Regions from separate parts of the Homo sapiens genome. Here all the other regions are linked to region 6. Evidence: promoter capture Hi-C in 16 types of primary human blood cells and fetal thymus (Javierre and others, 2016). All regions are on one chromosome and are shown on one strand. The core of a region is centred on a gene start or on the middle of the fragment in contact, and the rest is flanking DNA. Distances in the headings are between cores, read along the strand shown.

Region 1 (5,036 bases), core at 685-3,184, 200 kb after region 6:
GGTATTTTTCTCCCTCTGCTAGCCCCGCCAAAACTTTCAGCGCGTTCCGCCCACTCCACGTGGACCTCCCTTCCCTGTCCCAGCAGCCCCTGCGAGAACCCTCACCCCAACATGTGACCAATTGTTATGTTTCCTTCCTGGAGCTCGCTTTCAGCTGGCACCAGCTAACGACTGAACAAAAGTGCCCCCTTCAGGGTGAATGTGGGGCAGCAGCTTGAGAGGAGGAAAGCTGATGAGGGCTCAGGTACAATAGGGGAATGCAGCTGCCTCTGTTTAAAATGATTTCATATCTACATAGCTCCCTGGCTAAGGATTACACAATCAAACGATGAGACAAATGCAAGAGAAGGATGTCATCAAATAAAATTACTTGGGGGTGGAGTTGAATAAAATTTTAATTTCCAGCTGCAAAGTTGGTTACCTCTACTCCAACTCCATTTCCCGTTGAGTTCTTCATGATGTTGGCAGAGCACTCAGATCCTCCCATTCCAGACAAGAGCCAAGAATGCCCTAATTATGGGCTGGGTGATGGGAACAGGGCCTCCTCTGGGTGGGTGAGCTGCTTTTTGCTCACTACCACTACCCGCTTCCCCAGCAACACTCTAGTTGTCTCTTTAAGAGCTCGGACTCCTCAAGCTGACATAGTTTCCAAAATGGAATCTCTCCCTCTCTCAGCACTGGGGAACATTTTCCCTGGATGGGAAGAGCCCCAGGAGATCATGTTGGAGGAAGGAGGAGTAGGGCGGGGCAGCAAAAATTAGTCCAGTGGGAAGCCTTGGTACATGGAACAAGGGGGCTAACCAGGGAAAGTTAGAAAATAGGTCAAAGGAAGCCATGCAGAGGGAACTAGTTTCCTTGGAAAAATTTCTAAGCTTTGTCCATTTTTCACCTCACTCCTATCCCCTACAGGAGATGTGGGATTGGGGGATTGGGTAGGGAACTGGGGGTGAGGGAACATTCAAGGTTGGAGGCTGACTTGGGGAAGGAGTTGTGGGCAAGGCTCAGAGGAGGAAAACTAGGACTAAGTAGTGCAGGTAGGGAGGGGTAAATTTAAAATCAGAATTATTGTGGGGCCATTTCTCCCTCCAAGGTCATAGGGGTCATGGACAGTGAATGGTCCAGAAGCTACAAGCCGGGGAGCCCTAGGAGGGGGATCTCAGTAGCCAGGAAGCACACTACCCAGGGGCATGTTAAACAGTAATTTATGGAAGACAATGGAAGTAGTCCTGGGGCACCTATTTTTCCGTGTGTGTATTTCAACTTTTATTTTAGATTCAGGGGGTACATATGCAGGTTTGTTACAAGGGTATATTGTGTAATGGTGAAGTTTGGGGTATGACTGAACCTGTCACCCAGGTAGTGAGCATAGTACCAATAGGTAGTTTTTCAATCCTTGCTGGGGCACGTGTTTTCAAGGGAAACAGCCCAAAAGCGATCAAACTAGAATGTTGAGGACTCTAGCCAGGACATTTGCTCTCCTATAACTCAGCATCTGTCAGCGCTCCCATTACCAGGTGCTATTTCCAGAGTCCTGGGCTTAGGGAGAGGGAAAGGGAGGGGCGGAGGTGGAGAGGCAGAGGGAGACCCGATGGGCTCCTCCCCCAGCACAACTGCAATTCCAGCTTTTAGCCACTCAGGGGCTCCCAAGCTCAACCACAGCCCCTGCGTAAGGAGGGAGATTGAGTTAACAAGCCTCCAGAGGACACCTTGGGTCATCAGGGATGACCCTGAGCAGAAGGGTGACCCAGAAGTCATGTGCTCTGAAGCTGCAAGTCCTTCACAAGCCAATGAGTCCAGCCTCAACCTTTCTCTCTAAAAGGGACTCAGGGCACTGAGAACTCACTCCCCACCTCTTACCCTCACCCCCTTCTTTGTGGTCATTTCCTCCCCCGCGTGTTTCCTTCCCCTCCCCCATCCTCGTGGTGGGAACCATCCCCCAGCCTGTCAGAGTCCTGAGGAATGTTTTTGCCTTGACTGGGCGCCAAGCTGTGGACTTCCTGGGCTTTGGGGTGGGACTTGGCCAAGGGGAAGCCCTTTGGACCCAAGAGCCACTCAGTTCTGCACAGCCTGCCGGCTTTCTCTCTCTCTCTGCTAAGCAAAAGGCTCATCCATCACTTTGTGTCACGACTGCCTCATTTCCTCCCCCCACAATAGGATTTCCTTGCCAGGGCAAATCACACAATCTGGAAGCAGTGGTCATCCTAAACACTGTGGCTTATAGTGGGAGAGAGGGAAAGCACCTATTTCAGAAGCTGCCTTCTCTGTTCCAGAAGGCTGGTAGCTGGAAGGAGGGATTCAGTTGCCAGGGTCCTGAGGTAAGGACTTTGTAAATGGTAATTAATCTTGAGGGCTCCTTCTGGATCCTTCTCAGAACCATTGAGTCTAAAGAAATACAGGGTCTCTATATTATAGTTAAGCCTGGGAGTACGTGGATTTCTGCATATCTGACTTTTACCCAGCCTTCGTTTCCCTGAAATAAATCAGCTGAAATCCGAACTCATTCTTCCACATCATCTTTCCAGTCCCCTGCAGCAGACCAGTGTAGGTTCAGCAAGAACAGGGAGCAGGCAGAAACCACTCCCAAATCTCATTAATAGAGACTGGGCCTGTCAGGGACCACTGGCTCCTCTCCAAGGGGTCACTGCTCAGGTGTTTTTGCATTTGATCTCTTCTGATCTCTTGTCCATAAAAAGCCCTCAAATGACAAAGTGAGAACATAGTCCTATGGCATCCCCTGCCTCAGGGTCCAGTCCCTCAATGCCACTTTTGCAGCCTGTCTGCCTGATGTCATCATCTGTAGACCTGTGCCAGATTCCCAGGTTCCTATCTTGAAATCTCAGCCCCCGCACCCAGGGCCTAGGGGAGAGCCAATGTAGGTCACTGCAGTTGAGCCTGCAGGGCTGTCTGCTCCTTGAGCCCAGAGCCTTTCAGGCACAGAGAGAAAGCCTTGCAGAGAAGCAAAAGAAAGGGCTCTGTGAGAATCAGAGAAAAGCTTATTCCTCAAAAAATGAAGCAGGGAGAGGCCAGGAGTCAGCTGCTCAGACTGAGACAGTAACAGGAGTTCTGCTCCTGAGAACTGCCTGTGATGGAGAGAAGGCCCAAGGAGAGGGGCTGGGCATGGCTCACATCCCTCCCAACCCCCTAACCCCCATTTGCCTGTGTAAGGGAACCCTTTGGATCTGGTGTCCATCCCTCATTCTCTACTCTCTTTCCAGGCTCAGGTTTCATTCTCAGGAGCTTTTGTGATTTGCCTTAGGGACCCTTTGTTTCCTCTGGCCACAGTTTCTGGGTCTCAGGAAGGTGGAGTAGGCCAGGGATGACCCCGCCCTCCCCTATTGAAAGACTTTTCCTGCTTGTTATCTGCTAAACTCATTTTACCCAGGGAACTTCCAACCTTCTGGGACTTCATTCCTTCTCTTGGTCTCCCTACCCTAGCATCTGAGATCGCAGGGAGTGTTTGTGTGTGCCTGTGTGCATGGTCCTCATCTTCTTTTAGTTACTCATGGGAAGTCAAGAGCCTATGGCTGTTAACTAACTTGGGGTCCCCATGGCCAGCAAAAATAGATAAGGGCTTAATTTCTACCTCCAGCCTCAAAACAATTTAAGCCACAATCATTTGTTCTAATAGGAGCCTCGGGACAGGAAGAAAAGTAGGTAAGATGGAGAAAGGATAAACAAATAAAATTCTAACCTTTTCTTTCTTTCACTCTCCCCTCACCCAGTACCTTCCACTCCTCTTTGAGATCTCAGCTACTCATTAGCCTACTACTGTTGTGCCATTTGCCCGCATTTCCAGAATCTGCACACAGGAGGCACTCAATAAATGCTTTTTACTCTGAGTCAAACTAAATCTGATTACGCCCTGTGGCTGGACTTTGAGATGAAGCAGCACAAAGGGGGAAGGTAGACATGCCCCCAGATCTTTTTTTTTTTTTTTTTTTTTGAGACAGGGTCTCACTCTGTCGCCCAGGCTGGAGTGCAGTGTGTGATCTTGGCTCATGGTAACCTCCACCTCCCAGTTCAAGGAATTCTCCTGCCTCAGCCTCCTGAGCAGCTGGGATTACAGGCACACACCACACCCGGCTAATTTTTGTATTTTTTTGTAGAGACGGGGTTTCACCATGTTGACCAGGCTGGTGTCCAATGCGTGGCCTCAAGTGATCCGCCTGCCTCAGCCTCCCAAAGTGCTGGGATTACAGGGATGAGCCACCACGCCCAGCTGACATGTCCCCAGATCTTGGGCTAGATTCTCCTAGAGGACTGATTGTTAGGGACCGAAGACCTAAAGCAGTGGGTCTCAGGCTTCCCAGAATCCCAAGGGCCTTGTTAAAACTCAGATTGCTGGGTTTTGCTCCCAGAGCTTCTGATTCAATCCACCTGGGATGGGGCCTGGGAATTTGCATTTCTAACATGTTCCCAGGTGACCCCAGATCCCTATGCTTATCTTGAGAACCACTGTCTTAGAGAACCCCAGCCCCTCCCCCCACTGTTTACCATGAGGACTTGATTGGTTCCATTTTTTTTTTTTTTTTGAGACAGGGCCTCGCTCTGTTGCCCAGGCTGGAGTGCAGTTGCATGATCTCGGCTCACTACAACCTCCGCCTCCCGGGTTCAAGCGATTCTCATGCCTCAGCCTCCCAGGTAGCTGGGATTACAGGCGCCCACTACCATGCCTGGCTAATTTTTTTTTATTTTTTGTAGAGATGGGGTTTCACCATGTTGGCCAGGCTGGTCTCGAACTCCTGACCTCAAATGATCCGCCCACGTTGGCCTCCCAAAGTGCTGGGATTACATGGTTCCAATTTTATATAGGAGGAAGGAACTGGTACCACCCTAACCAGTACAGAGATCTTAAGAGAGGGTAAGGGCAGGCGTAAGTCGGTCTCTAACTGATTATCCATTCTGTCTCTTTTTAAATAGTCCATTGATTCCATCCTTATTGAAAGTCACTTCCCCAAAACATGTTTTGCAGCAGCAACAGGAGCACTAGGAATTTCCTGTGACGAGGCAGCGCCAGTGCTGGGGAGGGGTGGAGG
Region 2 (5,055 bases), core at 601-3,100, 240 kb after region 6:
CTGTCTGTTTTGAGAGGATGTGTGTGTGGGGGGTCTCACTCTGTTGTTCAGGCTAGAGTGCAGTGGCACAATCACAGCTCACCGCAGCCTCGACCTTCCAGGCTTAAGCGATCCTCCGGCCTCAGCCTCCCAAGTAGCTGGTAACACAGGCATGCGCCACCACACCTGGCTAACTTTTTAAAGTTGTTTTTAGAGATGGGGTCTCACTATGTTGACCAGGCTGATCATGAACTACTGGCCTCAAGTGATCCTCCCGCCTTGGCCTCCCAAAATATTGAGATTACAGGCATGAGCCACTGTGCCCAGCCGAGAACTAGAGTTGAGATTGGTTCCCACTCCAAAGGCTTCCCGTCACCCCTACAGGGTATCCTCCCATTGTCCTTCCTTCACCTTGAGGGGCAGGGCTAAATAAAAGGGGTTTGGAGAGGGGATCCTGATCACCAGACTCACAAAGGCAAAGAGGCAACCCAGGACAGATGCTGGATCTCAAAGTGCTGTGCCCACCACACTGGTCATTACTCAGTGCTTCAGTTTCTCTCTGCCACCACCTTTCACACTAAGTACCACTCCATGGAGGGCAGGGGAATCTGGTGCCTATCAGCCAGAGCTGGGTCCTGGTTGACCAATGCTGGGCTCCCAGGAGGGAGGAAGGGCACTGCCTCCTCTTTGAGCCCACACATAAGAGAGGGGACGGCTTTCCTTGTTCTCTCTCTCCCACCCCCAGAGCTCAGACCCTGAACAGAGATGCAGTGATGCCCAAAGATTTATGCAGGTGCCCCTAGCTGGTGGGGTGTGTCCCAGGCTGAGGGGCCAAGGGCTCCTTGTAAGCTGAAGGGCGAGGGTCAAAGGAGGGTGGGGCAGAGGGGCCTGCCTTGGGCTCTTTCCCATACACTCATTCCAGGCTGCAAAAATTTGTCTGGGAGGAAAAGATTACATGACGGTGAGAAGGCTGGAAATTGGAGACCCACTGCCCCAGGCCCCAGTCTCACTGATGTCTAGGAGACCCAATTCTCCACGAAGCTTCTCTAAGAAATCTGGGAGACCCCAGGCCCACAGCTTCCTTCACCCATCACAACCGCTCACATATACAGTTTGTTATGAACTAGGCACTTTTAAAAACATTTTTCCTCAAAAAAGCTAAATGAGGTAGATATGATCATCCCCAATTTACAGATGAGGCAACGGGGAAGTTAAATCGCTTGCTCAAAGTCACACATCCAGCAAGTGACAGAGCTGGGATTCAGACCTAGGCAGTCCAGGTCAATCATGGCCGTCATGATCATCACCATCATCTCTGTTCTTAGCTGTGATGGTATATCACCTGCTTGATAGATAATGCCTTGTTCTTTTTTGTTTTTCTTTTTTTTTTTTTTTTTTTTTGAGACGGAGTCTCGCTCTGTCACCCAGTCTGTAGTGCAGTGGTACAATCTCAGCTCACTGCAACCTCCACCTCCTGGGTTCAAGCGATTCTCCTGCCTCAGCCTCCTGAGTAGCTGGGATTACAGGACCCCGCCACCACACCCAGCTAAGTTTTGTATTTTTAGTAGAGATGGGGTTTCACCATCTTGGTCAGACTGGTCTTGAACTCCTGACCTCAGGTGATCTGCCTGCCTCCGCCTCCCAGTGTGCTAGGATTACGGGTGTGAGCCACTGTGCCCGGCCCAATGCCTTGTTCTTTCATCCAGCTATGTGTTCCCTGAGACCAAGCCTCAGTCTTTCCCCTCTGTAGCTGCCCTGTGGGTTCTCTGCCAAGTGCCTCCACCTCCAAATAGTCCAAGGCTAGAGGGGAGCATAGCGAGAAGTGCTTGGTGCCCCCGGGCTCGATGTCTCCTGCCTGAGTTCCCCCTCCTCAAATTCCCTCTCCAGAAGAGGTACCCCTTCTAGGCTGGAACCTGCACTCACGGGTGGGAGGGCCTCGCTTAGTACATACTTAGTCTAGGCAGCTGTGCCCTCAGAACCAGGCCCTGAGGCTGGGCAAAAAGGACACAGCTGTTGGGCATCTCTGAGGTGGGCCTCAGCTGCCAGGGGTGTGGAGAAAGGCCATTGTGAGCCCTGCAGTGGACCCAACTCAGCAGGGTCCTGCCAGCTCCCGCCACTGCCCATGGGGGCGGTTCTTTTCCAGCTTGGGCCAGTGTGGGGGGAGCCTCTTCATGGCTTGTTTAAGAGCTGCTAGCTGGCTGCAGCCTGCACCCTGAGGGTGCCCACAGAACTGGTGTCTCCAGACATGCAGGCCCGAGGGGTCAGCATGGGCAGTGGCTGACCCCCCCCCCCTTCCCCCATTCCCAGCCCCTAAAACTTGCTGGCCACAGCTGCGGCACTAAGGAAGTGCAGGAAGTCCTGAGCAGCCAGCTGAGCCCCCCGCCCCCCACCCCAACCTCAAGCTGACCCCAGAGGCTGCGCAGGGGGGGCAGAGGGGCGGAGCTTGGGTATTAACAACTGGAAAAGTATGAAGAACATTGCTGCCAGTCCCCAGCTCTGAGACAAGGACAGGGGTAGATCGGGGGTAGCAACAGGGTGAGAGAGAGTTACAGACTGGCAGAGAAACAAGGAGAGAGAGAGGGAGAATCAGACACTGCAAGACAGAGCAACAGAGAGACAGAGTTAGAGAGAAATTCCAAGTCAAAAGTACATATCACTCACACAGACACTCGCCAGCCGATGGCCTCTTAAGGAAAGCTTCCAAGTTTGGACAGGAGGGTACAGGTGGGAAAAAGGGCCAGACTCAAGGTGGGGCGCAGGAACTCAGCTGGAAGTGACTGACTGTTCCCAGGAAAGACCCAGGCAAATGACTCAGAGCAGGGGCAGTTAGACACCCCTGAGCTTTTAGGGTAGGGAGGAGAGCAGCTCTCCCCTTCCCCAACAGTCAAGAGAATCCTAGCTTCTAGAAGTCACTGGACACTGCTTTGAGCCCATGACTCGGCCCTCTGGAACCCCCCTGAACCCACTGTCTTTGCTCTTGTTTCTCTGTCCCTCTAAAAGAAAGAAAGAAAAAAAAAACAGCCCATTCCCGCACAGTGGCTGAGCCTAGAGGAAAAAGGGGAGGAGGAAGCTGAAGGGGAAAAATTTGTGATTGTGTGCATCTAAGTGTGTGCTCGGCTGCACAGGCTGCAGTTGTGTGTATCTGGGGTTGTGTGGACACGACTGTTGGTGTGGACCTGCAACTGTGGGGACCTGGGCCTTGTGAACTCATTCTGCACCTGAGTTCAGGGGACCATGTGCAAATGAGTGCACCTGTGTCTGCAGGTTCCACAGTCAATCAACTAACAAGTATTTACAGAGCAGCCCTTGTGCTAGGCTCTGCGTGGGATCCAGAGCTCTTTAAGTGATTCTCCCAGGTCTCCAAGAGCTCACTGTCTAGTAGGGTGGTATCTCAAGCGATAGAGACCAAGAACATGTCATTGGGAATGCATGCTTTACACCATTACGCAGGAACACTTTTTCATACAGCCAAATTTAATATTCTTGGGAGCAAGGGTTTTGTTGCCTACAGAACCTCAGAGCTCCACAGTAAAGAGTCCAGGAAAATACTTGTTGCTAAGTTGTGTATACATGTGTTGGTGTGTAACTGTGTTTGCATCTGACTGAGTGACAGCGACTGTCACGGCAAGCAATGATGTCTGTGTGACTGGGCTCATGCGAGCACGTGTGTGCCTGTGAGTGACAGGGTCTTTTGTAATTGTGCTGCTGTGTGCAATTGCTCTGTGTGCATGCATGCATGTGACAGTGACTTTTTATGTGTGGGTGACAGCAACTCCTCCTTGCCCCAGTGTGTGACAGCATCTACGTGTGACCCTGTGCGTGGGTATGTGCATGGATCGGTCCCCATGCTCTTGGTCTCCCATGGGTATATCCCACCCCTCAGAGCTCCACGGTGCAGCAGCAGCCTGTCTCTTCCCTTGTCCCCATGTGGGTGTGTCCAGTAGCTCCTGTCCTTGAGTCTGCCTGGGTGTCCCTGGATGTGCATGTGGCTGTCTGTGTGGACATATCTCTGTGTCTGCGTGTCACTTTTGCTTCCCCCCTCATTTTGGACAACAGCCCCCTTCATCCCCTCCCCCTCCTGGAGCCAAAGCCAGCACTGAGGGGCAGGCTCCCACCTCACTGGCTTTCCTTCTGTGTCCCCCACCCCCACCCCTGGAACGGTGGTTCTTTCAATTGCCCCTGTCATCCCCCCAGGCCTTTCTTTCACGCTGGACAAGGGAGGGCCCCAGATGGAGAAGGGGCACCAGAGACACGTTGCAAGGGGAGGGAAACAAGGTGGGGTACACACACACAGGTCCATTTCTCCCTCTCCTCCCCAGCCAGCAACTCTCCTAATCATCTAGGCACCACCAAGTACACCCCTTCCACACACACATTCCCCCCCAACAACCGCGTTTTTGCAATTAGCAGTGTTGCAACCAGACAGCCATGCTCAACCGGGAGGCGGGTGAGGCGGGGGAACTTCCCTCTCCCCGGACCCGTGCAAGCCCACCCGCGCCACCGCACTCATACTGCCCTCCGCAGCTGGAGGCAGCTTTGCAAAGGCCACTCGGGCCTCAGAGGCTAGGGGTGGGGGCTGGGGGGGCAGGCCTCCGGCGCACCGTAAACAAACCGCGGCGCGGCGGGCGGGGGAGCTCCGGCGGCCGGCAACGGGGCCCGGCCCGGGAATGCGCAGCAGACTGGCCGGACAGAGGCCGGGCGGGCCCTCCAGGGGGAGGCTCGGACGCCATCTCCGCCTGCGAACCCCGGGGCCCAGCGACCTCCTAGCAACACCTCCCTTCCCCAGGGCGTCAGTTGCAAGCTCCCGGGCTCGTGACAGGGTCACTGGGGCGCCAGGAAAGGCTGAGGCTGGCAGCAGGCACCCCCTGGGCGCCCCTAGCCCGCCTGGGAGCTGGCCACGGAGCCCCGCGGCTTTGCATAATCAATCGCAAGGCATTTGCATATTAATGCCCCCTCGCTCCCTCCTCCTTACCTCGGCGTGGCGCGCCGGACCGGGCTGGGCAGCGACGCGGGGGTCTCAGCGCCCCGTGCTGGGGGCGTCCATGGGGGGCCGGTGGGGCCCGGGCCGCCCGCCTC
Region 3 (5,019 bases), core at 1,271-3,770, 140 kb before region 6:
CTGCCTGTTCCCTAACCCTGTCCCAAAGGGACTGAGAGCCCAGCTTAGGAACTCCCCGTCCAAACGCTGATCTTTCCGCTGTCCACTCCCCCAGATTCCATGAGTCTAGGATCAGTACCAGGATGCAGAGGTGTGGACTTTTGATGCACACGCCCCGCCTCATCTCTGGTGGCCTCAGTGGTGTTAAGCCACAACCTGGCCAGCACATGGAAAGCTGTGACAGGAGGGCAGGCAGGGGTGGCTGGAGACGGAAAGGGGAGATCTGCCCCTGGGGCAAACAGGAGGCAGCTGGACCATAGCAGCCAAAGAAGGGGGCATGCCAAGTGGCCACCCTCCCCCAGCCACCTGCTGACACTCAGCCCCAAAAGGAAAAGGCAGAAAAAATAGACAGGTACCCTCGACCAAGCTATTCGCGGGCCAGTGGGCCCAAACCTTGGGACCTAAAGCAGACAGTGGCCTACTGACTGTGTAAGGCTAAAAAGATGGGTGGGTAGGGGCTTGGTCGTCTTATCTCACCCACAGACCCTGCAGGGCTGCAGCAGAACTCTAGAGAGTGCCTTTTACATGGTGCCATGTGGCCCAGGTCACAGCAAGGGATTACTTCTATGATGACTAGGAGGTGTGGGAGGGCACGGGCATAGCTTGCTCAGTAGGTACCTCCAGGCTTCCCTCGTCTCTCTCCAGATACCTGCATCCATTGCATGGCTGGAGGCTGGAGGACAAGGCAAGGAGGAAAGGGGGAGGGGCATTACAGACCTTGGCTGTGTCATCCAAAGGGGACCTAAAGCCACCCCATTCCAAGACACCGTTTTTTGTTTTTTTTGTTTATTTGTTTTGTTTTCTTTAGACAGAGTCTCGCTCTGTCACCCAGGCTAAAGCGCAGTGGCACAATCTTGGTTCACTGCAACCTCCACCTCCCGGGTTCAAGTGATTCTCCTGCCTCAGCCTCCCAAGTAGCTGGGACTACAGGCACGCACCACCATGCCCAGCTAATTTTTGTATTTTTAGTAGAGACGAGGTTTCACCATGTTGACCAGGCTGGTCTCAAACTCCTGACCTCAGGTGATTCACCCTCCTCAGCCTCCCAAAATACTGAGATTACAGGTGTGAGCCACTGCACCCGGCCTACTTTTTTTTTTTTTTTTTTTTACGAAATAGAGTCGCCCAGGCTGGAGTGCAATCACGTGATCATAGCTCATTGTAACCTTGAACTTCTCATCTCAGACTCCCAAATACCTGGGACTACAGGCATGAGCCACTGCAGTTGCCTATTTTTTTTTTTTTTTTTTTGTAGAGACGGGGGTCTGGCTATATTGCTCAGGCTGGTCTCGAACTCCTGGCCTCAAGCAATCCTCCCAAAGTGCTGGGATTACAAGCATGAACCTCCACACCCAGCCCCTAGATATTCCTGGAGGCCAGTTTGCATTATATCCAGAGGACAACCACAAAATTCTCATGCCATGCCCTCCCCAAACCCCTAGGGGATCTTATTTTCCTCCACTACAGGATGGAGTATTCCTACCCAACCAGAGGATGAGGTATTCCTACCCAGCCCTTTGAGGGCTCTTCTGTCTTGCATTCAAAGTGCTGAGAGAGGAGGAGGCTACCAGCCATCCTTATCTGGTGCCAGATACCCTCTGGCTGGTGGAGGATGGAGATTCAAAGGGAACGTGACTCTGTTGTACCCCGCGAACCCAAGGGCTCGGCCCTTGCTCCCTCCCAGTCTCAGTACCCCTCCTCTACCATTGCCACTGGCATCTCTGCCCCAAGATTAGCGACTTTCTCCCCCAGGACCCCCCTTCCCAGATATGCTGGGTGCCAGGCTGGCATTTCTCCTAGAATGTTTTCTGCTGACCCATCTCTCCCTACCCAGGGGCAGGAAGGGCAGAGAGGCCCGAGGCCCAGACCCCTGGAGTCCACCTCCTTCCTGTTTTCCCTGCATCCTGCTCTCCTCGGCTGACAAGCTGCAGAGGATTGAGGAAGTGGAGGGTTTGGGTCCCAGGACAGGAAGCTTGGGGCTGGAGTCCCAGCATCCGGACTGCAACAATGGAAGCTTCAAGCACCAGGAAAAGAGACAGAGACAGACAGAGGCACAGGAGAGCAAAACAGGGTCGGAGATGGAATGAGAAACAGAGGCATAGATACAGAAAGACAGACAGAGAGATTCCCAAAGTAACAGGGAAAGACCAACAGTGACAGAGACACAGAGAAACAGCAACAGAAAGAGAGGGAGAGAAGCAGAGCAACTGAAACAGAAACACAGAATAAGGTGGAGAAAGAAACGCACGATGGGCAGAAGACACTGAGGAAAACAGAACTCGAGAGCATGACTAGTGAAACTAGAGGTTGAGAGACAAATCAGGAAGAACAAAAGAGCAAGAGAAAGAAGGAAAAGAGACTGAGAGTCTAAGGAGAAACTGAGAAACAAAAAAAGAAAGTGTAAGAATGAGGTTAGGGCAAGGGCCTTCTCAGAGTCTCTCTCTCTCTCTCTCTCTCTCTCTCTCTCTCTCTCTCTCTCTCTCTCTCTGTCTCTGTGTGTGTGTGTGTGTGTGTGTGTGTGTGTGTGTGTGTGTGTTTCTCTCTCTCTCTCTCTCTCTCTCTGTTTCTCTCCCCTGGCGCCCTGGCCCCTTCTCTATTCCCTATCCCACACACATGAGGCTCCTGCAGCTCTCGGCTAGGAGCCAAGACTTTTCTACCACCTCAAATCCTACCTGCCTGGAGAAAAGAACAGGGGGCCTGTATACCAGGGCAGGCAGAGGTGTCCAGGCCTGGCAGAGGGACCCCTGTCTTCCCACTGCCTCTCAAACAACAAGGTGACCTGGCTCTGGGCTTTGGGGAAGGGCAAGTCTAATGCCCCTCAACGCCAAAGTCCCTCTAATTTGTATGTCCCACTCCACCACTGGACCATGTAAAAAAAAAGTTCAGGCCCTGGCTCCCCAGACCACTGGGATTTCACCCTCGGCCTGGATCAGGAACAGAAAGCTTTCCCCACTCCCTCATCCTCCCCAACACACACCCCACCACCATCCTCCAGTTCTCTGGCCCTAGACAGCTGACTTAACTGGACCTTAATCTGCCACTCCTGCACCAGCAGCCAGGCCTCCCACTGGGACCCCCTTATCAAACAGACAACCCTTGGAGGTTTGAGATGGAGCGATGGGACAGTCTCCCTTGGTGGTGGCAACAGGCTGCTAGGGACTCGGTAGCAGTTTCCTTGATGAGCCTGTCCCATGCCAGTCGGGCCCTGCCACGTACCTGCCTTCTCTTCAACTCATAGGGGATTTTTAAGGGCCTTCCAGGGCGGCTGGAATGGGGAAGAAGCCGCTGGGAAGGGAGCGCACTCAGGAGGGAATTGGGAGGCCAGGGGTACCTTACCAGAGGGCTGCAGGCTTTCCTGGATGGCCTCGATCTCCGCCAGCTCCATGCACACGCCTTGCCCGTGCATCAGTGTGTGCAGGGGCTTCTCCACCCCTCGGGGCGGGTAGCAGCGCAGGCCCGAGCCGCAACGGGGGGTGTACACCCCGCAGGGCATCCCCAAGCCCAGGGCGCAAGTGGCGCAACAGCCGCAGCCCGGCTCTCGCACCAGCTCCTCGCAGCCCACGGGGGGGCGGCAGCGCGCCAGCTTCTCCTCGGAGCAGGGCGGGCAGTGGATGGCTTCGTCGCCCAGGCTCGGCCCGGGCCCGGCGGCCAGCAGCAGGGCGGCCACGAGGCAGAGGGGCAGCATGACCGCCCGAGGACTGGGCGCGGGCGCGGGGCGCTGGGCGCAGGCGGGGAGCGCGGGCGCGCGGGCGAGCGGCGGAGGGCACACGGCGGCAGCGCCTGGCGCTCCTGGAGGACCCGACCCGGAGGGCGCGGGGAGACGGGGCGGCCCGGCGGGCGAACGGGGACGTAGCGGGGGAAGTTAGCAGGCGTGCCGGAGGGGAGCAAGCCTGGCCGCCGAGGCGCTGCGCCGCATCCTCGGCCCGGCCCAGGCAGGCGGCGGGCGGCGAGGGGCAGGGGGCTGAGCGGCTGCCCGGGACCGGCTCCCCCGGACTTTATACCGGTCCCTGGCCACACCCCCAGCGCCTTCCCAGAGGTGGGGGAGCCGGGGCGGGCGAGGGGGAGAGGGAGAGGCGGCCGTTAGGGGGAGGGGGCGCTGTCCTGAGTCGCCGCCGCCGCCGCCGCCGCATCTGAAAGTCCTTTTCTGCCGAAGAAGGAAGCGGCGCAGTTTGGAAGCTGTAGCAGGCGCCCAGAGTGCCTCTGAACCGGAGCCCCGGAGGGGAGGCAAGGGAGAAGGGAAGCCAAGGGGCTGCTGCGGGGCCCCCTTTCCCGACCTCGGAGGAGTCTCGTCCCGCCCCGCCAAGGCGGCCTCAGTCTCCCACCGAGAAAGGGACTTCCTAGCCCGGACTCCCGGCTCTGCGGATCCGGTCTTCCTGGACAGAGCCCTTTCCACCGCACCCCGGTGCTTCCAGCCTCAACCGCTGGAGACCAAGCCTCCTGAGGTGGGGTAAAGCGTACAGGCACAGCTAGGGGCACAGAAAGGCCTGGAGGCCCTAAGACGTTAACAGGCTCTTGCCACTTGCCCCTTGCAACCTCTCCCGCCCCCGCAATCTCCCCAGGGCGCATTTGGGCCCTGGTCCACCCTGCTTCCCCAAGATGGAATCAGCAGAACTCCCGGGGAGGGAGGTGCCGCCGAGCCTCTTCCTCCTTCTTGGATGTTTGCCTCTCAGGCCCATTCAGACCCACTCGTGGAGGGAGGCAGGCCTGGGAGATTGCCACTTGCAATGTGCAAGTTTTGCGTTGAACAACTCCAGTGGGGCACCATTCCTTGTAATCATTGTGTATTTGTAGAGCTGTTGTGATCATTTCCCAGATGGCAGTGAAGGATTTGAGGGGCCTGCAGCAGTGACTCACACCTGTAATGTCAGCACTTTTGGAGGCTGAGGCGGGAGGATCACTTGAGCCCAGGAGTTCAAGACCAGTCTGGGCAACGTAGTGAGACCTTGTCTCTACAAAAAAATTTTAAAATTAGCCAGGTGT
Region 4 (4,886 bases), core at 2,318-4,817, 200 kb before region 6:
TCATATGGTCATTCAACAAATATTGATTGAGCACCTTTCTGGGTGCCAGACACTGTGCAGTGCCCTGGGGGACAGCAGTGAGTACAAGTGAATTAAGTCCCTACTCTCCTGAATTTGCAGGCATCTATCTTGTTGTCTAGACCTTTTTCCCAACTGCCAGCCTATAGTCCATTTAGTGAGTCACAGCCAGCATTTTTTTAAATGCAATACAGAATGGGATAGAAAATATTAGTGTAGCCCAAGCAGTGAGGATAAGCATTCAGTTATACATGTATTACGTGAACTGGGTCCTGGCATAAAATGTATTTCTTCCTGTGGTTCATAATCAGAAAAGTTTGAGAAACATCATTCTAAGCATTATTTAAATAATTCCAAGGCCGGGCATGGTGGCTCACACCTGTAATCCCAGCACTTTGGGAGGCCGAGGCAGGTGGATCACCTGAGGTCAGTAGTACGAGGCAAGCCTGACCAACATGGTGAAACCCCATCTCTACTAAAAATACAAAAAAAAATTAGCCAGGCGTGGTGGTGCATGCCGGTAATCCCAGCTACTCAGGAGGCTGAGGTAGGAGAATCGCTTGAACCCAGGAGGCGGAAGTTGCAGTGAGCCGAGATCGCGCCACTGCATTCCAGCCTGGGCAACAAGAGCGAAACTCCGTCTCAAAAAAAAAAAAAAAAATTCATAACCGAAGTCAATGATAGGGAGCATGAAGAAATACACAGAGTGCTACAGGAGGTTAGAACAGTAGGGCCCCAACTGGTCTGGGCTGGGGACGGTGGTCAGGGACATCTTTGCTGCAGAGAGGATGCCTGAGTTCTCTGAGAAGGGGGCGGGGAGTGGGAAATGGAGGAGTGCTAAGGGAAGGATGGGGGAGGAGGTGTGAACTAGTACTGTGTCAAGAGGATGGCTTGGCGAAGGAGCAGTCAGGCAGAGACCGGCATGTGCCACACGCACCATCAGAGGGTGGGGGAGGGTGGCGGGACGTGGAGGTGGAGAGGTGGGAAGGAGCCTTGTGAAGCTTATTGAACAGTTGGGTCTCGATCCTAAAAGCAATGAGAAGCCACTGGTGGGTTTATTCATTCATATATCCAACAACCGCTTGCTGAGGAATCCCTTCCCCTGGCATCCTGGTGCTGGAGACACAGAGATGAAAACACCCTGAAGCCACTTCCAGGCCAGTTGAGAGTCAAGACATGCTGGAAACATGAAGAAGCAATCAAGACAGGAAGCAGTCAATGCAGACGCACATCCTACTGAAGGAAACCAGTGTTTTAGAACGGGTTCCCCAGAAGCAGACTCTGAGACAAGGATGAGCATGAGATTCATTGACTTGGCAGGTGATCCCAGGAAGCACTGTAGGGAAATGGAAGAGTGACACAGAAAGGGGGAGGAAGCCAATGGAGGAGGACTGACAAGCCCCTGTGGGCAACTGGGAACTCAAACGCAATCCCACTGGAAGCCCCTGAGAGATGGCAGAACACACCTACAGGAAGTAAAGATGGTTTTCATCATCCAGTTCGCATCTGTCACTGGCTGAAGGCTGCTCCTGGGGTCATCAACTCCACAACACTCCTAACCTGTCCCATGCACAGGACAGACAGCCTGCTTCTGTCTGCAGAGAAGGCCTCTGGCAGAACTGCAGGGATGCAGGCAGAAGCCTCAGCATGCAGGGGAACAGCGAATGCCAACGGTGGATGCACAGGGCACCAAAGTCATCCTGTGCAGCTTCCAGAGCATTCTGTGGCCCCTTAACTCATCTGTATTTGATGTAGGATGATGAGCCCCAAATATCAAACTACAGCCCTAACTTTTATTTGGCCTCCAAATCTTTATATCAGCTCTCCCTCAGACATCTCACTTTGGATGTCCCATGAGCACCTCAAATCATCAGGTCCTCAAACTTAATGCATATGCATCTCCATCCTCACCATTAAACCTACATACCTCCTGTTTCCCTACTGGGATGGATGGTGCCCCCAATTACCCAGTCACTCAAGCCCAAACCAGCTAAGCACAATCCCTCAATCCTGTTACTTCTCTCACTGCCCAGCCTTAGGGTGACTCCCCTACCCCACCCTATCTCACCCAGATCATGGTATCAGCTTTCCAGGTGTCCTCCCCACCCCCATCATGCCCTCTGTGGGGCAGCCCAGGCAGACTTTCCAACACACAGATCTGGTTGTGTCCATCCCCTGCTTGAAATCCTTCATGCTTCCCAATGCCTCGCCAGCCTAACATCCCCGCACCATCATTGCCAACATGCCACTTTGTATTATCCAACTCTTCCAAGTTATTCCACATTTCCCTGCCACATGTTCATTCCTTTGCACTTGCTGAGTCTGCTGCTTTTTGTTTGTTTATTCAGACAGGATCTCACTCTGTCACCCAGGCTTGAGTGCAGTGGCACCATCATAGCTCATTGCAGCCTCAAATTCCTGGGCTCAAGGGATCCTCCTACCTCAGCCTCCCAAGTAGCTAGGACTACAGATGTGCACCACTGCACCCAACCTGAACCCACTTTCTAAACTCAATGACCTCTGCTTTTGTCCACCTGGCAAATAACCCTTCTCGTTGTATCTCAGCCCTGCCTCCTCTAGCAAGTGGGAGCACGGAGGTCCTGATTCCCTCCGTGCTCCCACTGTGCTGCTCACCTCCTCCTCGGCAGAGCAAGGACATCATGAAATAGCCATCGTTAAACTGCAGGTCTGCCTTCTCCACTAGACTGTGAGCTCCTCCTTGAGAACAGGGACATTATTTTATTTTTGTTTCCCCAGCACCTTAGCACAGAGCCTGCTCCCAGGAATCCCTCCATATATGAAGTGACTAAGCTAAGGTGACCCCACTGGACAGTGTCTGAACCACGATGACACTCATTCCCACCTTCTCTCCTTCTGCTGGATAGAGCCACCAAGTACAGGTGACATGTGCCTGTTAAGGTGAGGGACAAAATAGAGCAGTGCTTCATCTACCAACATGGCACTCCTGAACCCTCCCAGCAGGGTTATAATAGTGGGGACAGGGTGCACCAAACCATCAGTGGCCTCTCAGGTTGGATGCAGGGTCACACCAACAGACAGGTGTGGAACCTGGGCAGAGCAAGGAGATTCTGTCCCACTGGGCACTAAAGACAGCCTTGGCCTCAGGGACCCTGGATTCTACCCATGTGGCCCAAATGGCCAGAGAGCATCTGGAGCTAGATCTGCTATCTTCCTGGGTGATAAAAGTCAGGAAGGTCTTCTAGATCTTCACTTGAGGAGCCTATTTTTCAGGGCAGTTTAATTCCACATTGTTTGTTCTCTGCTCTGCAGACGCCTAGGAATTCTGTGCCAGGAACCAAGCTGAGAAACTCCGCTGAGGAAACCACGGGAATCTCATTTGAAGATTCAAATGGAAAAGCTGCTTCTCCTCTCTGAGCCTCAATTTTCCCGTTTGTAAAATGGTAACTTGTACCCAAGTCCATTCCAGCTCAAAAATACTATGATTCCTTTCTTAACTAGGAGGAGTTAAGGGGAAGAAAACTATTATTTCAACTGTGATCTCACCAAGGAACAAGTCTGAGGACTGAGTCGGGGGCCAGTGGCATGGTGTGGAGCACTCAGCATTCGGGGATGACCACCCTCTGCCCAGCCCCTCCCCTGGTACCTGTTACTCTAGGGGAGTCCCCTTCTCCTTTCTTGGTTTCCTTGTCTATAAAAGAGAATGATGCCAGCCACACCAGAGGACCACCGTAAGGAGAAATGCAATGTATTATATAAAGTGCCTGGAGCGGGCCAGGCGTGGTGGCTCACGCCTGTAATCCCAGCACTTTGGGAGGCCGAGGCGAGCGGATCACGAGGTCAGGAGATTGAGACCATCCTGGCTAGCACGGTGAAACCCTGTCTCTACTAAAAATATTTAAAAAATTAGCCGGGCATGGTGGCGGGCACCTGCAGTCTCAGCTACTCGGGAGGCTGAGGCAGGAGAATGGCGTGAAACCCGGGAGGCGGAGCTTGCAGTGAGCCGAGATTGCGCCACTGCACTCCAGCCAGGGTGACAGAGCGAGACTCCGTCTCAAAAAAAAAAAAGTGCCTGGAGCAGTCCTTGACCCATAGCTGACAAATCATTATCGACATAGTTTCCTTTCCCTGGGTAACAAGTGCTGGGTGCCTCCCCTGCTCAGCCTGCAGAGCCTGGAGACCAGAACACTCTACTCTCACTCACCGCCTCCGTCCACCCCAATCCGTGGCTTCCCTCCCCGTCAAGCTCAGCTCCTTGCCCGAGTTGGTCCAAAGGCCAGAGTGGCCAGGTGAGCGTGGTTAGCCACAGACGTGACCACCCAAGACCCCATGACCCGAGTGGCAAGCCTGAATCCACACCGAGGCCTGAATCCACACCGAGGCCTGGGGACCAAGTCCAGTGCTTTTGTCACAAAATAGCAGACCCCATGCGATGCAGGCCCAAGGGCTCACTGCCTACTCGCTGTCCATCCATCTCCCTCTGTCCCCAGGTGACCCCATTGCATTCCTGTGGTTTGGGGTTTGCTGGTGTGGCGGCGGCGACTGAAGTCTTGGCACCCTCCCACCAGTGAGTGGGGAGGGGGCTCCAGGGGCCAAATTCCTCTTCAAATGAGATTCCCGTGGTTTCCTCAGCTGAGTTCCTCAGCTCGGTTCCTGGCACAGAACTCCGAGGCGTCTGCAGAGCAGAGAAAAAACAATGTGGAATTAAATTTCTCTGGAAAATAGGCTCCACAAGTGAAGAGCTAAGCATCTCTTTGGGCTTGGGTCCGATTGCTGTGCCCCGTGCCAGGATGGACTCCCTCCGCCCTACAGGCACGGCAGTTGAGCAAGCCCAACTCCTTCCCCCCACCCACCACCTCTCCCCACTGTCGGACCTCAGAGCTGTCACC
Region 5 (5,007 bases), core at 2,363-4,862, 180 kb before region 6:
CCAGGTTTGGGCTCTGAGGTGGAGGCCAGCCCAGCACCCAGGCCCTCTGGCACCCAGGGTTCCTGGGCTCCTGGGCTCCTGCCTGCTCTGTCCCCTCTCACCAAGCATTGCCTGCCAGACCTGTTAAAGAAACTGTCCGTCAAGGGTCTTCCTGTTTCTTCAGGCCAGTCAGTCATGGGCATGTCACTGCAGGAAAGGCATCTTGGGCCTAATTACTGTTGGCAGGAGCAAGCCCAGGGTTTTACCGTTCATGCCCCAGGACTGGATTTCCACATGTCCAAGGCCAGCTGGGGCAAAACCAGTCCCTGTGGAACGTCCTCAAATGTTGGGTGGGGGTTGGTGACAACTAGGCCCTTCCTCCACGGAAGGGGCTCATGATCAGCTTAGGGCTGATGGCATGGGTCCACATCCACAGATGCCCTGGGCACCACATGCCATTGTGAACATGTGTCCACCCAACTCTGGGGAACAGGGAATGTAAGGCAGGCAGTGGCCAGAGGGTCCTGAGGAAGCTGCCTCTCTGTGCCCTGGCCCCTTCTGATGGAGAAAAAAAATCTCTTCCTCTAACGTCTGCCTGGACACCTGCAATGCCTGGGAGCTCACTACCTCCTAAGACAACCCAGCCAGGTCAGCTCCCCACTGGGAAGTTCTCCACCATCACTAAGAACAGCAGACACCTGCACCCAAAATCCTCCCCGCAGACCCTACTGCTGGTGACAAATCTCTCACTGGCCTATAGCAGTGTACAACTCTGAGCGTTGTGGTGAGTTCTCTTACCTCGAAATGTATTCAGAGTGGAGGATCCCCTGCCATTTTACAATCTCATCCTTCCTACTTTTGGGCTGTTCAAGGAAAGACACTCTGACATTACCGTGCTAGGAGATGTTTACTTTTCCTTTTTGTCCTAACTTGGCAGAATTTAAAAATTAAACATTGGCAATTCTATATTGACATTTCCCCTAAATATATATACATATTTTTTTTGAGACAGAGTCTCGTTGTGTTGCCCAGCCTGGAGTGCAGTGGTGTGATCATAGCTCACTGCAGCCTTGAATGCCTGGGCTCAAGCAATCCTCCCACCTCAGCATCCCCAGTAGCTGGGACTACAGGCACATGTCACCACGCCCGGCTAATTTCTTATTTTTTTTTTCTTTGGTGGGTGATGGAGTCTTGCCTCCCAGGTTCAAGCGATTCTCATAGCTCAGACTCCTGAGTAGCAGGGATTACAGGTGCCCACCACTATGCCCAGCTAATTTTTTTGTATTTTTAGTAGAGACGGGGTTTCACCATGTTGGCCAGGCTGGTCTTGAACTCTTGACCTCGTCCACCTCGGTGATTCGCCCACCTTGGCCTCCCAAAGTGCTGGGATTACAGGTATGAGCCACCATGCCCTGCCAACCTGGCTAATTTTTAAACTTTTTGTAGAGATGGAGTCTCACCATGTTGCCCAGGCTACCTCAAGAAATCCTCCTTCCTCAGCCTCCCAAAGTTCTGGGATTACAGGCATGAGCCATATCACCCAGCCCAGGCTTAAAACAAAAAAAAAAAAAAAAAACTAGTCCATGTACCAGCCTGGCCAACATGGCGAAAACCCATCTCTACTAAAAATACAAAAATTAGTTGGGTGTGATGGCATGAACTTGTAGTCCCAACTATTGGGAGGCTGAGGTGGGAGAATCACTTGAGCCTTGGAGGTGGAGTCTGCAGTGAGCCAAGATCCCGCCACTGTAATCCAGCCTGGGCAACAGAGTGAGACCCTGTCTCAAAAAAAAAAAGACTCCATGTAATCCATGATCCCAGTGTCTGGCTTTTGAAGGAAATAGTGGAAACCTCCTTTTACAGATGAGGAAACTGAGGCTCGGGGTGGGTACGTGATGGCTCACAGTCACACAGTCAGGGAGAGATAGGTCAGGCCTCAAATCCCAGGCTCTGGGCTCCATAGGCCACTGTCCTTTCTCTCTTTCTAAAGTCTAGTCTTCTGCCCTCTGGGGCATCACGGAATCCATCCGTTTGGAGGCAGCCTGCAGGCTCCTCTTCTGAGGCGCGACCTCCTGGGTGCTTCACAAACCTTCCCCAGGTTCCCTGCCCCTGCCTTCCTTTAAACTTGCCCTGGGGGCCCCCATCCCACAGAGAATGTGGTTCCTAGAAGCAAACACCATATCCCTTTCTTTATCCTCTCCAACACCCCGCACCCCATCTTTGGAACAGGCCCCCCACTTTCATTTTCCAACAATGTCTGCCAGGCAAGGCTGTTTACCCGCCCCAAGTGAAGGGTATTTAATAAGTATCTCTCCACCCCTCACCCACACGCCCTCCCTCCACTCACCCGCCTGCCTGGGGCTGGCGCCGGCACCCACCCAGCACTGCTCAGACTTGCCCCACAGGCCAGTAAACAGCGACTGCACCCCTGCAATGGGTAGAGGCCCCAACCCCACCCCCCAGCCACACCCACCTTGAGGTGAGCACGGGGCTCCTCCCTCCCCTCCCGCTCTCCTTACTCAGTGACCCCAGCAAGGTCCCTGATGGATGTTTCAATGGCCCAGTGAGTAGGGAGCCCAGAGCTTCACTGTGCCAAGAGACCCTCCCCAAAGCAGCCAAGCACCTTCTCACAGGGCAAGGCCTTGGAGCAGGTTCCCAAGGAGCCCCTCCTCATCCTGGAAGAAGCAGTCCCTAAACAGAGCTCAACAACACTCCCTGGCTGTGCAGCATTGGATAACTCACTTCACCTTTCTGAGCCTTCCAGATTTCCCATCTGTTATATGGGCATTAATAATATCCCCTACTTCCACAGAGTTGTCATGAGGGTTAAAGGAGCTAATACAAGCAATGTGTTCGTAGTGGTCCTGGCACATTGCACTCAATAAAGACCAGTCTCTGTGAAACATCGTTGTACACTAAGTGTTAGCTCCATCCCCACTCTTCTCCAAGCTTCAGTTTCCTCCTCTGTAAAAAATAATGCCTGCCCTGCTCAAGGGCTATTATAAGGTTCAGAGGAGATTATGGGTGTAAACACTATAAAGTCCTATAAAAATTGAAGTTGTGCTTTCCAGCCTTCCAGAAGAATCCAACCCATTCCAAGATCTCTTTTCTTCCAGAGCCCACAATGCAGTGCCCCAAACACTCTCTTCTTGCAGTCATCTTTCTAAGCAGAGAGATCCCCACCTTAGCCAGAAAAGGGCTCCATTTGGCCAATACTGTCCCCAAAAAGCAGGCAGGTAGGAAATGCTCCTCTCTCGAGCCTCACCATGGGCCAGGCTCCCGGCTATTGTATTTCATCCTCATCACAACCTTGGAAGACTGGTTTCAGATCCTCACTTTGCAGATAAGGAAACTGAGGCTCAGAGAGGTTAGGAAAGTTGCACAATGCCCTTGGCTGAAAAGCAGCAAAGCCAGGACTCACCCCAGGTTTGTTTTGCTACAAAGCTAGGCTCTTCCTCCACCCGCTGAGCAGCAAGTCCCAGTCAGCTGCCAGCCCTTGCTCATCTGATGTAACTCCCCACCCCCACCGTGGCCCAAGCAAGCTCAGACAGAGGCAGTAACTGTGAGCAGGGCCAGATGGCCCTACCCAGGAGCGGGCTGGGGCAGGCTGGGGCTCCACAGTCATAATGGGGAGGAACAGTGCATGTGCCAGGGCCCCAGGCAGGTGGGAGCTGAGGGTGCACGTTCTCCCCAATTTCCCCAGCCTCCATCCCAGGAAGCTAGAGGCAAGACTCACACTCTTCAGAAAGGAGCGGCTCATTAACCCCCACCTTCCTCCAGCTTTGCTGGAACAGCACCAAGGACAATTCCCTTCCCCCAGGTCAGGAGGAAGGGTGTTCATCCTCACCTTGGGGAGAACCTCAGAGCAGCCCACTGCAAGGCCGACCTCGGGAGAGGAACAAGGCCTCAGAATCCCAAGAGTCCTGGATGCCCCGACCAGGGAGTGGAAAGAGCGCTGGAGCGCGTCGGCAGCCTGGGGTGTGTTGGGTGACCCCTGTGTACCAGCTACCATCCCCAGGAGATCCATAGCTCAAGAATGCAGCAAGCCCTGTGCTCAGGGAGTGCCTGCTCCAAAGCAGGGTTCTCAGACTCCACTGCATATTCACATGCCCTGGGTGGCCTCGCTAAAATGCAGATTATGTTTCTGTAGGGGTGGAGCCCAGGTGATGTGGTCCTGCTGAGCCATTCATGGTCTACTGGACTCACCTGAAAAACTGGAAAACAAACAAAACTGAGGCCTGGGTTCACCCCCTGGAGAGTTTAATCTAATTGGCACAAGGCGCAGCCTGGGGTGAGTCTAGTGTGTAACCAAGCTTGAGAATCCCTGCTTTCACTGCAGGTACAGAGAAACCACTTCCTTTTTTTTTTTTTTTTTGGAGATGGGGCTTCACTCTTGTCACTCAGGCTGGAGTGCAGTGGCGCAATCTCGGCTCACTGCAACCTCTGCCTCCCGGGTTCAAGCGATTCTTGTACCTCAGCCTCCCAAGTAGCTGGGATTACAGGTGCCCGGCTAATTTTTGTATTTTTGGTAGAGATGGGGTTTGCCATGTTGGCCAGGCTGGTCTTGAACTCCTGACCTCAGGTGATCCACCCGCCTAGGCCTCCCAAAGTGCTGGGATTCCAGGTGTGAGCCACCGCGCCCAGCCTCAGAGAAACCACTTTCACACATCCTGAGTAGCAGAGGCATCAGAAAGTGTCACTGGTACAACCCATCAAGTGGCCATTTCAACCTAGGAACAGGGCACAGACAAAGGAGAGAGTTGCCCAGTTTTTAAGCACCTGGTCTGTGCCGGGAACAGTGCTGTGCTGCCTACATGAGTTTCACTTCATCCTTTTTGTATCACCAAAAGGCTGAATGCAGTTGCCCCACTTTACAGGTGTGGAAACTGAGGCCCTGGGTGGTGAAGTCTTTTGGCCAAACTCTCTCAGAAAATAAGTGGCAGAGCCAGATCTGAAGCCTGGGTCTGTCTGATTCCAAGGCCTGGGTCCCCTACTGCATCTCCTCACCCAAGGGAAGTTGTCACAGGG
Region 6 (4,975 bases), core at 2,273-4,772:
TCCACCCAGTCCAGCCCGGCCCATCTACCTGGGTCATGCCCCTCTGGGTAAGGTCCTGCCCCTGCTCCCCATGCCTCCTTGCTGTCTTCTGCCCCTCTGGCCCTTCCTCACTCCTCTGCCTGCCTGCTTACCCTCACCTTGGCCAGCCCCTCTGCCTGCCCCGTGCTTTTCTGCACGTCCCTCCTGCCAGGGGACTGACCAACTAAAAATAGTCCCTGCAGCCTTTCTCGCCCACAGCTGCCCAAAGAGCAGGAAATGAGGGGGGCAGGGAGGCCCATGCCCTGCCTTACCCCCACTAACTCCCAGGTCAGAATCATGTCCAGCACTCCAGCCTGGGGCTAGCGCCAACTTGGCCATCCTGGGGGCATCCCACACCCCTTTCCTAGGGGGAGGCCTGCCCATAAGTGCCTGCAATCACAGAGCTGCCCCTACCCTGCGGGAGGAGGAGAAAGGAGGCAAGCGGTCTAGAGGGAAACCTTCCCAATTTCTGACAAATCAGTGCCAACCACATTGTGGGCACCCAAAGGGCAGGGCCTGGCTCCACTGACTGGTCTTTTGAGGGCAGAAGGAATTGGCTTGGGGAAGTTTGTGACAGTCTCCTTCATCCTGGCCCAACTGGAGGGAAGACAAAATAGTGCCCCAGCCTCAATTATGTTAGTCCCTTGCTCCCCAAAACCAGGGATTTCACTAGCCACCTGCAGATATCATGGGGAAAAAAACTAAAAAATGAGAGCAGGAGATGTAGGCTTCTGTAAAGAGAGAAGCCTGGAGGCAAGAATAGGCCATGCCTGCCAGGCTGGGCATGTGCTGCCCCCAAGCTGAGTCAGAGGCTAGGAGGGAGAAGCTGGGGTGCTACAGTGCCAGAGGCTACTGTGCCCCCACCCCTGTCCCACCTGGGATTCCTGACACCTCCCAGCCCTAGGGGAAGGCCCTCCCCACAAAGGAGGAAGGAAACCAGCTAAGCGACTCTCTGGAGCCCTGCAGGGGAGCCCTGCACCACAGGCAGGGAAACCCAGGAGTCCTGGCGCCCAGCCCAGAGACAGTGAAATATCTTGGAGGGGAGGAAACAGCCCAGATTGAGGCAGACATGTGGCACCCCCAGAAGCTCCCAGATGTGACCTACTGGCCAAAGGGGCTAGATGAGGCAAAGTGAAACATTTCTGAACAAGAAGAGAGAAGAAAGTGGGGCTATGGGAATGGGGTGGCGGGGGTCAGCCTGGCTCATCGCTGTCCTTTCCTCCTTGTCAGAGTCAGTGACACTGACATTAAGGTCATCGAATATCAACCAGGTCCTGAGGACCTTGGTGTGTTTCCTCCTCTCCTAGTCTCCAGACCCCAGCCTGTTCATTCCTGAGCTTCCTCTGGCACCCCTTCCTTGGGGCCAAGCCAAGTAAGAAATCAGCAGGCCCAAGGTGGTGCTTGGGAGGCCGGGGCAGTGCCAGGGGCAGTCCTCATACCATCCTCCCACTGGCTTCCCTCCTGCCTGCTCTTAGCCGCCACACATATCTCAGCTGTCGAATCCGATTAGGGCTCCTGCCCAGTGAGCCAGACAAGGAGGCCACTGGGCAGGGGAGAGAGAGACAAGGACGCCAAGCAGGGATGGCAGAAGGAAGGTGGAGACATGGCTCAGGGGAGCAAGTATGGGGCCCCAGAGGAAGAAATGCCTGGTGGAGAGATCTGTACTCTGTGACCACAGGTGCTCTGGTAACAGCTACAACCTGCATTAGGGGAATTCTGCAGTAACCGGGGCAATAGCCCTGCCTAGTTCCTCCATCCCCCAGATGGGCAAAGGATGGGGGAAGAAAACTAAAGGCGGAGAGATTGACCTAGATTTAGGAAGAGGATTCCATCCTAGATTCCCCCAGCCATTACTACCGTTTGCAGTGAGCTTTACGATACATTGTCTCTGTGGTTTTAGTGGCAATGTCCCTGCTTGCTACTGATAGCCATTTTTACAAATGGAGAAACTAAGGCTTAGCAAAGGGGAAGACCTATATAAACACATATAGTTAAGTAACCAGTCTAAGTCTCCAGTTCAGGCCTCTGATTCCTAGTTCACTGCTCACAGTCAGAATCTCTACTTTCCTTGTTGGATCAAGACCAGAACGAAGTCTGAAGCCAATTCATTATCCACCCTGTCCTCTAAAACCAACCTTTAGGGGACCCGGGGAGCCATGGAAGAATGCAGAGCACACCCCACACCTAGACAGAGCTACCAGATGGGGACATGCCACCCATTCCTATCATACATTGATTGCTAGAGGAGTTCCCTCAGTGTGACCAGTCTCTTCTATCACCCCCCTCCCCAGTCTACTACCCCCAGAAGCAAGACACACACTCACACATGGTAAGTCAGACAAGGTGTACACCCTTCCTGTAAACCCACCAAACCAGAATGACACGCCCTAGATCTTCAGAGAGCAGGGCCTGTCTGCCCACCACAGGAGAGAAAAATAAGCCACTGTAAACAGTAGGTGCCATCTAGCCCTCTCCCAGAGAGCCTGTAGCGGGGCAGAAGCTTGGGGACCTTGTAGCTCTAGAGAAACACCAGGAGCCTGAGATTCTGAAAGCCAAGAAGCTCAGGGAGCTGGCAAGGCTGGGTGACCTCCTCAATCTGGTCCACACCCCCTTCCCTAGCCATCTGGACTGAGCCTGTTCTGGCCTGGGCCACACTCTGGTATCCCTCCCCTTCAATGCATGCAGCCACCTCTATCCAAAGCTTCTAGATCTTACAACCACATTGTCCCTACACACACACACACACAGGTGGGGTCGGGGGGCTTCTGCAGCAGGTGTTGAAATGTTGACATGGATGGGGGCTCTAAGCTGAAAGAACTTTCCTAGAGGAAAAGCTCACCAAAATGCTCACAACCTCCACTACCCTCTAGCAAAGCCTTTAGCCACCCAAGTGTGAGATGAACCTGGAAGGGGACATTAGTTCCCCTACAAGGTGTGTAGGGAGTAGGGGCAAAGTCCTGAGCTCTTTGGGTGAGGAAGCAAGAAAGAAATCCCTTGGGAAAGCTCAGGTCCCTCTCTGGCTCTCTCCTCTCTCTGTTACCTCAGCACTTGCCAATTCTCCAGTCTAGGTGAGGTGGGGGAAGGGGTATTAGGCAATACCGCAAAGGAGGGTGCAAGGGCGTGGGGCCTGGGCAGACCTTCCCCCTACTCCCCACTCTTATCTAGAGAACGGGAACTGCCTCAGGAGAAATGCAGGAAGGGTGCTGGAGGGTGCAGAGGGCTCTGAGCTTTCAGACACCCCACTGTTCCCAGGCTCCCACCTCCCAGGACTACAGTGAGCGACGGGAGAGGAGGGATGGGGAAAGCCAGAACTGGCGAGAAGGAAATGGCTAGATCAGAAGCAGAGGCCGGGGTCAAAGGCGGCCAAAGAATTGGGAAGGGGTGTGCATGGTCCTACCTGCTCAGGTGTGTGCTGGCAGGGGGCCGATGGGGTTCCCAGGAGAACCGGGGAAGCCCTCTCAGCTCGATTCAGGATTCCCCCCTGCTTCTGGGTTAGGCTGCTGCAAGAGGCACGGGTTCCCGTTGGGTCCTAAAGCCCACTCGCCAACTAGAAGGCTCTCCCCGCCCTCTTCCACCAGCCAGCCCCGACTGGGTCAGCGGGCGCAGAGCGAAGGACTGATGGGGGAGAAGTAACCCACTGGAAGAAAGATGGGCGTCTGGTCATCGGCTGGGGACAGGAACAGTTCCCTGTCTCAAATACACAGCATATGGATAACTCGAGGATAGGATGACCTGAAACAGGAGAAAATAGACATTTCTTCCTGCCTGCCCTGAGCAGATGGATTTAGGTTTTGGTGCTGGAGGTGGGGTTAAGATCTCTTTCCCTGCCACTCCTGCTAAGGCATTCAGCTAGAGATTTTGGAAAGGGAGCATTCATTTTGGTTGGGCGCTCACTTCTGTCCTCTTCCTCATGGACTGCAGGAGTCCCTTCATCCCTCCCAATTATTCCCAAGGACCTAGGAGGCCATAGAGGGTGAAAAAAGATTTTCAGCATGTAAAAAGTGCAGGCTCACTTAGATGGCAGCTGGAAACAGGGGAAACATGTAGGACCAATGTATGTGTATCTGGGAATGTGTGGGGTCTGCAAATACACATATATAGGCAAGAGTATAAACAGGTGGGGTTAGGGAAGGAGAAAAAAACAAAAAAGAACTTTGGGTTACACCTATTACTGGAAATGGTAATTGTCAGTGGAAGAACAGGACGTAGAACCTAGAGGTCAACTAGTGCCCCTACCCAGCCCTCAGTAATGTCCCGAATCTTTATGACCAGAATAAACAAGTTAAAGAGAGAATATTTTCCTAGATACCATTTAGGATAAATATAGGGGCAGAGGGACCTCAATACAACAGATCAACTTCAAGGTCACTGATTCAGTTTAGTATAGCCAGTCTTCTCAGTAGCTCAAAAGGGAGAATTCAGGTTTGGTGGGCTAGATGGGCAAGAGAAAGCTGGATAAGAATTCTGAAGTTGTGGATTGAGAACATTTTGCAAGGAGAGTTGCACATATCTCTAGCAGCAGAGCAGGGAAAACGTCATGAGGGGAAGGGCCAGAGGAAGTCAGCGACAGACTTGAGGGGAGAGGGCATGGCCTCTCCCTAGAAGGGGAGAAGACACCAGCAATGCCTCCACCTCTGTCTTGCAGGAAGAACTGAGTAAAGGAGCTGGACTAAGGATGGAAGGCCCCAGGGTGGAGTCCATGGGGTGAGTTTAGGTCAAACCTTTCACCCTAATGTGCCTCAGTTCTCTCCCAGCTGTTAAACAGGGCTCTTCGTTCTTCCCAGGCAGTTAATGAGTGTTTACAAAAGGGTTTGGAGATCCTCAGATCTCAGCTGGGCCACCACTACAGTTATAAAGTTCAATAAGAGCTGAGTGTTATTTGGGGAGGAGAGGAGTAGGGGAAGGAAACAGATACTCTCTTATAAACTAAGGATAAAACTAAGCTCAGAGAGAAGCA

Evidence for each region. Contacts are between HindIII fragments. The CHiCAGO score rates a contact against its expected background, and 5 or more counts as called.
Region 1: a fragment that was not itself captured here is called in contact with the fragment with the promoter of RARA in region 6 in 1 of 17 cell types (neutrophils); the score reaches 5.3 in neutrophils.
Region 2: a fragment that was not itself captured here is called in contact with the fragment with the promoter of RARA in region 6 in 1 of 17 cell types (neutrophils); the score reaches 6.1 in neutrophils.
Region 3: a contact is called between a fragment that was not itself captured here and the fragment with the promoter of RARA in region 6, in 4 of 17 cell types (M2 macrophages, monocytes, endothelial precursors and 1 more). The highest score is 6.3, in M2 macrophages.
Region 4: a fragment that was not itself captured here is called in contact with the fragment with the promoter of RARA in region 6 in 5 of 17 cell types (activated CD4 T cells, total CD8 T cells, naive CD8 T cells and 2 more); the score reaches 6.4 in activated CD4 T cells.
Region 5: a fragment that was not itself captured here is called in contact with the fragment with the promoter of RARA in region 6 in 1 of 17 cell types (naive CD4 T cells); the score reaches 5.0 in naive CD4 T cells.

Annotation. Positions count from the first base shown.
Region 1 is chr17:40,108,440-40,113,475 of GRCh38, reverse strand. No RefSeq gene overlaps it. Among named protein-coding and RNA genes, the nearest start is that of NR1D1, 10 kb to the right of the region's middle. RefSeq lists enhancers at 2,401-3,341, 4,596-5,036. The HindIII fragment of the contact is 2,120 bases long and covers 875-2,994 here.
Region 2 is chr17:40,062,989-40,068,043 of GRCh38, reverse strand. It overlaps THRA (thyroid hormone receptor alpha), which reads right to left. Exons shown (of 9, transcript NM_199334.5): 1 at 4,952-5,055. Among named protein-coding and RNA genes, the nearest start is that of THRA, 2.6 kb to the right of the region's middle. RefSeq lists silencers at 4,577-4,676, 4,877-5,036. The HindIII fragment of the contact is 1,656 bases long and covers 1,023-2,678 here.
Region 3 is chr17:40,442,441-40,447,459 of GRCh38, reverse strand. It overlaps IGFBP4 (insulin like growth factor binding protein 4), which reads right to left and starts at 4,010. Exons shown (of 4, transcript NM_001552.3): 1 at 3,376-4,010. The coding sequence starts at 3,724. RefSeq lists silencers at 3,804-3,853, 3,864-3,913, 3,924-4,113. The HindIII fragment of the contact is 929 bases long and covers 2,056-2,984 here.
Region 4 is chr17:40,511,929-40,516,814 of GRCh38, reverse strand. No RefSeq gene overlaps it. Among named protein-coding and RNA genes, the nearest start is that of TNS4, 13 kb to the right of the region's middle. The HindIII fragment of the contact is 5,091 bases long and covers 1,022-4,886 here.
Region 5 is chr17:40,489,144-40,494,150 of GRCh38, reverse strand. All of the region lies in intron 2 of TNS4 (tensin 4), which reads left to right. Among named protein-coding and RNA genes, the nearest start is that of TNS4, 10 kb to the left of the region's middle. RefSeq lists enhancers at 1-172, 173-674, 3,039-3,664. The HindIII fragment of the contact is 1,364 bases long and covers 2,931-4,294 here.
Region 6 is chr17:40,307,727-40,312,701 of GRCh38, reverse strand. It overlaps RARA (retinoic acid receptor alpha), which reads right to left and starts at 3,522. Exons shown (of 9, transcript NM_000964.4): 1 at 3,416-3,522. RefSeq lists enhancers at 236-736, 2,326-3,209, 3,521-3,650, 3,661-3,830, 3,210-4,095. The HindIII fragment of the contact is 5,393 bases long and covers 2,722-4,975 here.